Linked DNA regions of Homo sapiens: region 2 is linked to region 1. Evidence: promoter capture Hi-C in 16 types of primary human blood cells and fetal thymus (Javierre and others, 2016). All regions are on one chromosome and are shown on one strand. Each heading gives the region's core, a stretch centred on a gene start or on the middle of the fragment in contact. The rest is flanking DNA. Distances are from core to core; before and after follow the strand shown. Region 1 holds the start of GPRC5B (G protein-coupled receptor class C group 5 member B). Region 2 holds the start of PDILT (protein disulfide isomerase like, testis expressed).

Region 1 (5,803 bases), core at 1,896-4,395:
AACCGGGAGGCGGAGTTAGCAGTGAGCCGAGATTGCGCCACTGCACTCCAGCCTGGGCGACAGAGTTAAACTGTCTCAAAAAAGAAAGACAATCATGATTCCCATTTTCCTGTTGCGAAAATGAAGGCAGAGACGTCAGGAAAATTGGCCAGAGGTTCACTGGAATTTACAGGCTGGCCTGGGACTAGCCCCCATTTCTCCCAGCTCCTGACCTCAAGGCGTTTCTGCTGCATCCCTGTTCTGAATCCCTCACGTGTGGCAGAGGCTCAGGATGGGGCTGCAGAGCCAGATCCCCATGCACCCCAGCATCATAGTCTGTCCCAACTCACTCCTGCTGGAGCCTCTGGTCCATTTCCTGCTCTGCAGGATTAAACTGTTACAAGGTTTCCTGACTTCAGACCCGCTCTTTCCCACACCCCCAATTCTCACCCTCTGATATCTTTTCCGAGTTACAGGATCTCATCATCTTCATTTCCCAATGCTGACTAGACCACTGGCCCATTTGAGGGCTCTCAAATTAAAAAATCCTCATAGGTTAGTAAACAGGGTTGCAAGAACACAAGCTCTGTGATCCATGAATATGCAAAGCAGCTCCAGTCCTGTAAATAAAAGCAATCATTGAAATGCAAATTGCATCCTTGGCTGCCCGATCCACAGTGGTTGGTTCCTCTCAGGCTGTAATTCCGAGAAGAAAATGTGACTAAGCGGAACCCCCAGGAAGCTCTGCGAGAAAGTGCTTACGGGGCCGTGGGCTCCGGGGGGCTCCGTTAGAGTGGATAAAAACTGTATGAAAGCAGGGAGTGGATTTTAAAACCTGAGCTGCTCCTCCAGTTGGCTTGCAGTGGCTGGCTAGGCTCAAAGCGGTCCCCCAAGGCTGGACAGAGCCCCTTGGAGGCTCCCAGCGTCTCTCTATCCCCATGGGCAGAATGGAAAGGGGGGCTATTTTCCATTTCCTTGTCAACGTCAGGGGAGCTTCTACAAATCAGATCCCATGGCCTCCCACTCAAAACCCTCCAAGGGTTCACTGGTCCAAACAGAATAAACCCTAAACTCCTTTCCATGACCCAAAAGATCATGATCTGGCTGGTCCCTACCATTCCCCTATCCCCACCCCCAAATCTGCCTACAGCTCCAGCCACAATGGCCTTTGTTCAGTTCCTCTAAGCTCATTCCCACCTCCAAGCTTTTGCAGGCACAGTGCCTTCCTCCTGGTTCAGTCTTCCTCCAAGACCTCCCAGCGGAGGGCCCCTCTTCTAGCTGGGCTCCACTCAAATGTCACTCCCGGAACAGTCATCTCAGGTACATACACCCCTGTCACCTTCTTTTACATCACCCCATCTTATTTTCCTGGCCGTCCTCACCCCAATCGGATTTCATAGCCATTTGCTATGGGTTTGTTTAATGTTTGTCCACTCACTTCCCCAGCCCCGGGAGAGCAGGGGTTTTGTCCGTTTTATACAAGGCACCCAGTTCTGTCCCTGGCACGTTTCTTGAAATAACATATTAATCCAGTAAAGATTCTGAGTTTATCTTTCTAACAAAACTGCCTGTCTTGCTGCCTGTGCCCCCAAATGGCGGCTCCTTCCTCCTGGAATCTCCTTCCCTTCCCAACTCAGCTGACCCCTTTCCAGGCTTAGAGCAGGGAGCAGATAGCAAACTGTTCACTCCACAGTCTTAGATACCAAACTGGCCGGGAGGGCTTCCAAACGACAGATGCCAATTTGCATTCTATTTACATGTCATTTGCATGCAGTTTAACTCAAAGCCTGGATCCTCCGCAAGCCCGAGTCCCCACCGAAGAAACTTCTGAATTAAGAAGGTTCCTTGGCTGAAGTGCCGGGGTTTTTGTGCCAGATCCCTCCCCCACTTCTCTTGTCTTTGCGGGGTCCCCCAGGGCTTTCTGGGCTCTGTTCAGGTGCCCCCCGGCCTGGTGCAGTTGGGCGGCCAATGTGGCGCGTGGGCTGGGGCCCCAGGCGGGGACGCCGCTGCCCGCCACACTCCAGGGGCCTTTGTCCGCGCTCCAAGGAGCCGCCCCCTTAGCGAACGGGGGACGGAAAGGGAGGACTGGCTAGGCCTGGGTGTGACAGAGCAAGGACGGAGGAGTGAACCCGCTGCACGGGGGAGATTTCTGGGGCAAGGTCGTTGGCCCCTTCCCAGGCTGTTCAACCGGCTGCCCGGGGCCAAGGCGGGTGCGGGCTCCTCCCGCGCGCTCCCTTTTCGGCCTAAGCGCTAGGGACCCCGGGATGTGTGGGGTCCTTGTGGGGCTGGAAGCCTGTGTCCCCCAAGGAGAGGGGACCGAGAACAGGTCTAGTCCTTATCTCCAGCCTAGCCGCCTCTTCCAGAGGTCCAAGTGCCCCCTGTCTGGAAGGGAAACGCCACTGCCCCCCCCGCCATTGTATGCAGCCGCCCCCTCCTCCCCACCCCTCCCCGTCATTCGTCCCCAGCCCAGGTCTCAGCTCTGCCATCTCCCACCGCCGTGTCCCCCCCTCCCCTTGCTGAGTAATGCGCACTCAAGCCGGCTGCGGGCTTGACCCCCAGCCCCCGCGACAGGTGCGGCTGTTCACCCCCAAAGTCCAGCCCTTGTGCCCCCGGCTGCGTCTGCCCTGTCCACAGTCAGCCCCCAACGCGGCCCCAGGACCAGCCCGCAGCTCCTCACACATGACGAGTCACTAGGACACGGCTGGGCTCCTTTACCCTCCCAGCTGCCCTTCACCTGTGGTCGCCCCCACACCCTCCTGGGAGACTTGGATCTCTACCTGGTCCGGGCACAGTCTCCCTCCCCCCGTAAAGGTCCCCAGATCCTCCCCTCCCCCGCCCACCCCTCTACGGCTCTGCTCTCGTCGCACCGTGGTTCCCCTCGCCCAGATTCCACATCTCCCCCAGCAATAAACTCCCTGGCTTGGGTTGGGGGGGCGCTTAGAAAAACACAAGAAGCGGACCCCCCAATTCTCCCAAATCCACGGCGGGAAAAGTTTCTGGGGTCCCCACAGCGTCCTCCACTGCATCGGCGCAGCTCGCACTTACCGACCCCCGCGGCCCCGCAGCGCCGACGCTCCAGCTGGCCTTCGGCCCGAGTCACATCTCTGCGGCGCGGCCGCGGCCCCCGCTCCACGCACGCCCGCCTGCGGGTCCAGCTTCACTGCAGCGCCTGCCAGAGTCGCTGCCGCGCGAGGCGCCCCCTGGCCCGGCCCGCGCTGCTGCAGCGGCCGCGGCCCCGCCCCCGCCCCCGCCCCCGGCCGGCCCCGCCCCCGGGCCTCCGAGCCCCACCCCCGGTCCCGCCGGCGGTTCCGCGCGGGGCTAGGCGCCGTCTGCATGCACCCCCGGAGCCCAAGCTCGTAGCTTCTAGCCCGGATCTCAGAGACGATTCCCCCGACCTCGTGCCCCCAATTCGGGGACATTCCCCCCACAACGTCAGTGCGCCCGTAAGCAGTCCAGACGAGCCGGGCAACTCCCCAGGGTAGATCCATTTGCGGGAACACTCCCCTAGCCAATACACTTACCGAGGGAGGTATCGCGACCCAGGGGTCCCAGCGCGGAAGCCTTCCTGCCCCCAGGCCACGCTCCAAGGGGGGTTCATAAGCAGTAACTTCCCCGAAACACACCAGCACCAGGTCCAGGACGCAGAGAGGATCGATCCCGCCCGGTGCCTCTCGAAGTCACCAACGCCCCGGTATACACCTAGGCGCACACACACCGCTAGGCCTCCTCCAGGCAGGTTCCTCCTGGACACACTCTTCTCTCTCCTCACTGCCCAACTCCCAGATGTCGTTGTCCGTTTACGCACACTGGGACCAACACCCGCTTCCTTGGCCCCTCGAAACACACACGTCCAGTCGGTGCACCCCTCACGTGGGTCCCTACGCAGGATCGCCACCACCCCTACCGCACACATCACCCACGTACGCACATGTCCACTGCCCTTCAGGGCTCACACACTCAGCGGCCCGGGCCACTGGCCGTGCGCTCCGCAGACGGTCAGGGCACAGCCCGGACGCGTGTCCGCTGGGCGGCCGTGGGACCTGCTTGAAGGAGGGGTCCGGGGCAGCCGTCTCTGAGTCCCCCTCACCCCGTCCTAGTCCTCAGGCCTCTCCGAGGTCGCATTGCTTCGACCAGGCCTGGGAGCTGCGCTCCGGCACCCCATATGGGGCTGGTTCCCTGGGTGACCTTCAGACCATCAAACCCTGGCAGTCTCAGGTGGCCCCCCGCCAAAGCCAGAAACAGACCTTTGAGCAGCATCCCTTCCCTGCACTCCAGATTCTCAGGGTGAGATTTCCTTTCTCCCTCCGCGGTGCGCCCCCCAATCTCTACCCCCGTCGCCGCAACCATCCCAGCCACATAAGACCAAAAGGGATAGGACGGACCCCTGCTCCCCTCTCCCGGGGGCTGCAGGAAGGGGAGATGCAGAACACCTCCTTCTGGGAATAGTGGCAGCCCCTGATCTTTGGGGACCGTGGCCCTTCCAGATACTCCCATCCCTCCCTGCCAGCCTCCCAGTTCCGGTCCGGTTAGGCCACATCCCCCTTGGGCACGCATCTCTGGGATACCTTTTATTATATTCAAGGGAAAATGGAAAGGAAGAACCATAATGGCAGTTTTTCGCCCCACTCCTGGTTTATTTGCATGGATCCTCAGAGCCCAGAACAGTTCCAGGCACAGTAGGCGCTCATTAAATGTTTGCGGGACGACCCAAAGTGTGTTCCCGCCAGACTGCGCAATTGGAAAGTGGATGGGCACTGTCACCTGGTGGCAGCTCTTGGAACTGACGCCGAGATCCTTTTGTCAACGTGGGCAAGTTCACTTTCGTGAGCCACATGTCCTCAACGTCTGCAAAATGGAGATCTTTTTCATCGCACATGCCTATTGGGGTTGTTGTGAAGGTCTAACACGTGCTAACATATAAAGTGCTTCACGCAGGGTCTGGCATGTGGAAAATCCTTAATATGAGCTGATTAACATTGCAGTTACGGTTATATTCCCTTTCCCACTTGTTTTACAGAGGACCCTGACTGTGATGGTCAGTTTCACTTTGGGTGATGATACCACAGGGAGCACAGAGTGAAAATGAAGGAGGACATTGAGTGGCAGGTGCATTCCTTCCCTCCAAAAAGTTCAAACACCCATGGATGATAATAATAACAATAATAGCTGAGTACATAGTGCTTTCTGTGTGCCAGGAGCTATTCTAAGTGTTTTAAATTCTTTAATTCATTTAATCCTCCCAGTTACCCTTTAGGCCAGAGACTGTTATTCTCCCTGTTTTACAGATGGAGACACTGAGGCCAAGAGGGGTTAAGTACTGCCCCGGGGTTAGACGGTTGGCAAAGACAAAATCCAATCCAGGCCATCTGGCTCTGCAGGCCATATTATCCACCAATGGTTAGACTGGTGTCATTTGCTGTCAGGTCAGACATTGTCACAGAGGAACCTCACCTCCCAGGAGAGTTCACTGGGTCTCCAGCCTTGGAGAGAATGGCTCCAGGAGGTCCAGGGAGCCATGTCAGGCTCTCAAGTGCCCAGTTCACTTTGTCTAATGAAAACCAGTGGCTTCCCTGGCTCTATTCCTCACCTGAGAAATGGTCAGTGCACTGCCCATGGCTTCCCACTGACAAATGTCATGGTATGTGTATTAATTTCATACTGCTATGAAGAAATACCCAAGACTGGGTAATTTATAAAGAAAAAGAGATTTAATGGACTCAAAGCTCCACATGGCTGGGTAGGCCTCACAATCATGGTAGAAGGCAAAAGAGGAGCAAAGTCACGTCTTATATGGTGGCTATATGGTGGCAGGCAAGAGTGCATG
Region 2 (5,803 bases), core at 2,374-4,873, 520 kb after region 1:
ACCCGCCACCATGCCCGGCTAATTTTTGTATTTTTAGTAGAAACGGGATTTCACCATGTTGGCCAGGCTGGTCTCAAACTCCTGACCTCAGGTGATCCACCTGCCTGGGCCTCCCAAAGTGCTGAGATTGCAGGCGTGAGCCACCGTGCCCAGCAGAGATTTCCTTTCGACACAGGAATTCCATCACACCACTGTGCCTATCAAAAGGTGCTCACTTTTGTGCAAAAAAAAGCTTCTGCCTCTTTTTTTTTTACAATCCATTCGCAAAACCGCACACCAGCCAAACTGTTCTCTGTGGTCTACCAGGCCCCACTGGCTCTGGACCCATCTGACCTTATCGCCCTCCTCTCTCTCTCTCCTCCCGCACTCTGGGGAGCCACACTGGCCTCTTCCCTTTCCCAAGCACACCCTACCCGGGGCCTTTGCCTCTGTCTGGGGCACCCTTCCCTCACATCGTCAGCCTTTTCTGGTTCTCTGGGTCCTAGCTCGAATCCACGCTCATCAGAAGGGTCTTCCCGGGCCACTCTGTCTCACCCCATCTCAGCTTTCAGCACTCTCTGCCATATCACCATTGTTTGCATCATATTTTGTATTATTATTTATGAGTGTACTTTGTTGTTGTTGTCATTTTGAACTTTTTAATGTAAATACCATTGTTCACAGCTGTTTTCTCCCCTTCAGAACAGTGCCTGTACCAGATTTGGAACTCAATGAATGTTTGTTGAATGAATGAATGAATGGCCTAATTTAACTCTTACAGCAAACCCCATTGGTTCATTTCAGTGGTTCTCAACCATGACTATGCTGAGAATCTCTTGGAGAGTTTAATAAAAAATACTGATGTTCAAACCCAAACCCAGTAGGTTCTAATTTAATTGATCTGGGGTTGGGTGAGTCTGGGCATTATTATTATTTTTTAAAATCCTCAAGTTGATCCTAATGTGTAGCCATCTATACACCAAAACTGACACTTAAAACTTAAACTGGTGACTCCTGGTAGAGAAAAGCCTCCCAAGGCAGGGCCCATCAGTCAGATTTCCCATTTTCACTGAAGCTCATACCTGCAGGAAGCCAAGGCCACTCCCAGGGTTCCTGGGGCCAAGGTGGGGCTGTGCTGGGGGTGGGGCCACAAACTCTGTGGCCCTTAAGAAGGAAGGTTGTAGCCTGAAGAGGAGGCTCCTGGCTTCTCCTTGTGATCAGGGCAGGACCCGCAGACGACTGGGCATTCTAAAGAATCCACAGGCAGAAATGAAGTCCCTTCCTGGGCACACAGAGGCCACAGCAGCCTCAGCAGCAAAGTTCTGAGTTCTGGGGTTCTAGAGGACCAGGGGTGACCCTGTAGAAGAATGGGCCATTGTTGAGTAAGAGGGGGCCCTGCCTGGCAGCCCTTGCTGAGTTTGCTTGAGGGGCTAGAAACAAAACTCAGTGTGGGGTGCTGGGTATGGCCCAGGAGGGCTCTGAACTCAGTGCCTATAGATTGGAATTTGAATCCCAGCTCTGTCTTGAACAGCTGTATGGCCTTGAGAATGTCACTTACTCTTTCTGAGGTTCAGTTTCCATGCCTGTTACATGGCATCTAACTCATGGGGGTGTTGTAAGCAAAGTAAATTATGTGGAATTTAGAAGATAATTAATGATATGAAGAAAAATAAAACCTGGAAGGATGATGAGGAACGCCTGAGAGGGGGATGGGATAAAATAAGAGGATTTATGCAAAACGAGCAGCTCAGTACCTAGAAGGCAGGAGCCCCTCACGCATCACCACCCTGGCCTCATCTCCTAGGGGAGAAAGATCTCCACTCACCCTGCTCCAGCCACACTGGTGTCCCTGCCAGTCCTCCAATACAATGTCTGGGCCTCTACACTTGTGGTTTCCCCTGTTAGGGAGGCTCTTCACCCAGGTGGACTCAGGGTTCACCCCTTAGCTCGTTCCAGTCTTTGCCCAAATGTCACTTCCACAGTTGGGCCTTTCCTGGCCACTTTGTTTAAATTTGTAAGTGCCCCATCCCCCTCTCAGGCGTTCCTCATCCTCCTTCCAGGCTTTATTTTCCTTCATAGCATTAATTTTCTTCTAAACTCCACATAATTTACTTTGCTTACCTGGTGATAGGTGCTCAGTAAATATTTGTTGAATGAATAAAGAAAAGGCTGTTGATATTATTAGCATCGTTATTACTGTCAGAGTTTGCAGCCTTTGGCTATCTGCTGCCCAACTGTTATTAAATACTGATGGAGATGACTAACATTCATTTCACTAAATTTTAACATCTGTGGGTTTTAGTCCTAGCGCTTTGCTCTTCTCTTTCTTTTCTTTTTCTTTGAGACAGTGTAGTGGCGCGATCTCCACTCACTGTAGCCTTCACCTCCAGGGTTCAAGCGGTTCTCCTGCCTCAGCCTCCTGAGTAGCTGGGACTACAGGCATGCACCACCACGTCTGGCTAATTTTTGTATTTTTAGTAGAGACGGGGTTTCACCACATTGGCCAGGTCGGTCTCAAACTCCTGACCTCAAATGATCTGCCTGCCTCGGCCTCCCAAAGTGCTGGGATTACAGGCGTGAGCCACGGCATGCGGCCCCACTCTTCTCTTTCCATACTTAACTTCCATACTTTTGTTGGCTTGTTTAAATGCATGACTTCAAATACACCCCTTTATAAGTTACTCTCTCATTTACTCTCCAGGATTTGATCAATTGATTACATTTACTATTAAGACCGTTTTCCATCTGCCTATTAGAAAAGCTCTTTTTGGTTGAACCACACTCACTGAATATCTGAATGTCTTAATTTGAACTCATCATGTCCCTTTCAACTTTTCTTGGCAATTATTCCTTTTCTGGATGTTGTGTTTGCAAATAATTCCTGGGATGTGTTTGACTCTTTTTTCTCCCAGGCCTAAATCAACAATCTAGTCTGGCATATATTATTTTGACATCTTTCACACTTGTCAACTGTTAGTCACAAACTAAAACACTTGGGTTATTATCCCAAATGTCCTTCATTCATTTTCCTTCACTCTTGCACACAGTTGTTTCTTGACATAACATAGGCACTTTTATGATGATACTCATTTACTGATAAAGCTGCTGCTGCTTTTTTTTTTTTTGACAGAGTCTTGCTCTCTTGCCCAGGCTGGGGTGCAGTGGTGCAATCTTGGCTCACTGCAACCTCCGCCTCCTGAGTTCAAGTAATTCTCCTGCCTCAGCCTCCTGAGTAACTGGGATTACAGGCATGCACCACCACGGCCGGCTAATTTTTGTATTTTTAGTAGAGACGAGGTTTCACCATTTTGGCCAAACTGGTCTCAAACGCCTGACCTCAGGTGATCCACCTACCTCGGCCTCCCAAAGTGCTGGGATTACAGGCGTGAGCCACTGTGCCCGGCTTAAAGCTTCTTTTTATAAAATAACATTAATTTCTTTCTGATTAGAAAAGAACAGGATTTAATTTCTAAAACATAGAACATACAGAAAAAATGAGTTAATTGAAATCATACATCATCTTACTTAGAGAAACATTCATATTTTGTTACGTATGGGATTAATATATACTTTTTAAAAATAAAATTGTGATTATATTGTCTATAAAGTGTATCCAGTTCTTTCATTGAACATTTATGAAACATTTGTCATGACTTATGATTATATATTCTTCTAAAAAGTACTGATTGAGAGTAACGATATTGAGATTAGACTGCTGGAGAAATAATGTTCAACAGTCCGTCCACCCCTCTGAGGGTAGAGATTGTATCTTTACATCTGGCTGCAGATTCAGAGATGAGGTTGTATCCTGGGTCGCAGTAGAGGACTGAATGCTGAGCAAATGGACATTGAGGGCTCATAAGATGGTTCCCTGTGGCCAAGCTTGGCGGCAAGGGAGAGGAGCTGCCTGCGTGGAAATGGGCCAAACTGGCCAGGCCAGGAAATGAGACAGAGTCACAGGGGAACAACATACAGTGATGGATAAAAATCCAGGGTGAAGTTTGAATCACTGCAAAGATAGGCAGTTAATGGCTCAGCATCCTCTCTATAGGACACCCATAACCCTGTCATTTGCAACAACATGGATGGAACTGGAAGTCATTACATTAAGGGAAGTAAGCCAGGCATAGAAAGCAAACATTGCACATTCTCGCTTACCTGTGGGAGCTAAACAGGAAAACAAATGAACTCATGGAGACAGTAGAAGGACGGTTACCAGAGGCTGGAAAGTGTTGCAGGGAGTTGGAGGAGAAGTGGGGATGGTTAATGGGTACAAAAAAGTAGTAAGAGTGAATGAATAAGGCCTAGTATTTCCTAGCACAATAGGATGACTATCTTCAAAAATAATGTAACCATACACCTAAAATAACTACAATAGTATAAATGGATTGTTTGTAACACAAAGGATAAATGTTTGAGGTGATGGACACCCCATTTACCCTGATGTGATTCTAACGCATTGCATGCCTGTATCAAAATATCTCATGTAACCCATAAATGTATATACCTACTATGTACCCACAAAAATTAAAAATAATTTAAAAAGAACTTCAGAGAACAAACAACAAAAAGACCGGTATGGCTGGAGCAGACTGAGACAGGAGGTTTGAGGCGAAAGGCTCACAGGAATTCCTGTGGGGCCCTGTAGGCAATTGCCAGGACTTTTTTTTTTTTTTTGAGACGGAGTCTCACTCTGTCTCCCAGGCTGGAGTGCAGTGGCACGATCTCGGCTCACTGCAACCTGTGCCTCCCAGGTTCATGCCATTCTCCTGCCTCAGCCTCCAGAGTAGCTGGGACTACAGGCGCCCACCAGAGTAGCTGGGACTACAGGCGCCACCACGCCTGACTAATTTTTGTATTTTTAGTAGAGACAGGGTTTCGCCGTGTTAGTCAGGATGGTCTCAATCTTCAGACCTCGTGATCCGCCCGCCTTGGCCTCCCAAAGTGTTGGGATTACAGGCGTGAGCCATCCCACCCGGCAATCGTCAGGACTTTGGCTTGGACTGTGAGTGAGATAGGGAGTTGCAGGAAGCTTTTTCGAAAAACCACCTTTGGGCCAGGTGCAGTGGCTCCCACCTATAATCCCAGCACTTTGGGAGGCCAAAGCAGGCAGATCACTTAAGGTCAGGAATTTGAGACCAACCTGGCCAACATGTTGAAACCCCATCTCTACCAAAAAAATACAAAAATTAGCCAGGCATGGTGGTGCATGCCTATATTCCCCGCTACTCGGGAGGTTGAGGTGGGAGGATCGCTTGAACCCGGGAGGTGGAGGTTGCAGTGAGCCAAGATTGCGCCACTGCACTCCAGCCTGGGCGACAGAGCAAGAGCCTGTCTCCAAAAACAAACAAAAAAACCCAAAAAACTTCTTTTGGCAGTGTACAATTATTATTACTATTTTTTGTAGTAAATTTACAGAGATCTGCAGTCATGACCACAATCCAAATTTAGAACAATTCTATGACTTCAAAGGGATGCCTTAGAGCCGTTCCCTGGAACCACTCCTCTGTTCTCTCTGTATCTACTGGAGGGTTCTAAGCAGAAAAGAAACAAAGTCTGACTTATATTATTATCACTATTGCACCTTTTCTGTTAAAACATCATAATCCCAGCACTTTGGGAGGCCGAGGCGGGCGGATCACGAGGTCAGGAGATCGAGACCGTCCTGGCTAACACGGTGAAACCCCGTCTCTACTAAAAAATACAAAAAATTAGCCGGGCATGGTGGTGGGCGCCTGTAGTCCCAGCTACTCGGGAGCCTGAGGCAGGAGAATGGCGCAAACCCGGGAGGTAGAGCTTGGGGTGAGCCAAGATCGCGCCACTG

Evidence for each region. The method cuts DNA at HindIII sites, captures the fragments that hold promoters and counts their contacts. A CHiCAGO score of 5 or more calls a contact.
Region 2: a contact is called between a fragment that was not itself captured here and the fragment with the promoter of GPRC5B in region 1, in 1 of 17 cell types (M2 macrophages). The highest score is 5.2, in M2 macrophages.

The regions. Positions count from the first base shown.
Region 1 is chr16:19,881,703-19,887,505 of GRCh38, forward strand. It overlaps GPRC5B (G protein-coupled receptor class C group 5 member B), which reads right to left and starts at 3,146. Exons shown (of 4, transcript NM_016235.3): 1 at 3,025-3,146. RefSeq lists enhancers at 1-428, 429-1,158, 1,159-1,889 and a silencer at 3,405-3,699. The HindIII fragment of the contact is 5,537 bases long and covers 1,182-5,803 here.
Region 2 is chr16:20,403,435-20,409,237 of GRCh38, forward strand. PDILT (protein disulfide isomerase like, testis expressed) reads right to left here and starts at 1,303. Exons shown (of 12, transcript NM_174924.2): 1 at 1,062-1,303. The HindIII fragment of the contact is 472 bases long and covers 3,388-3,859 here.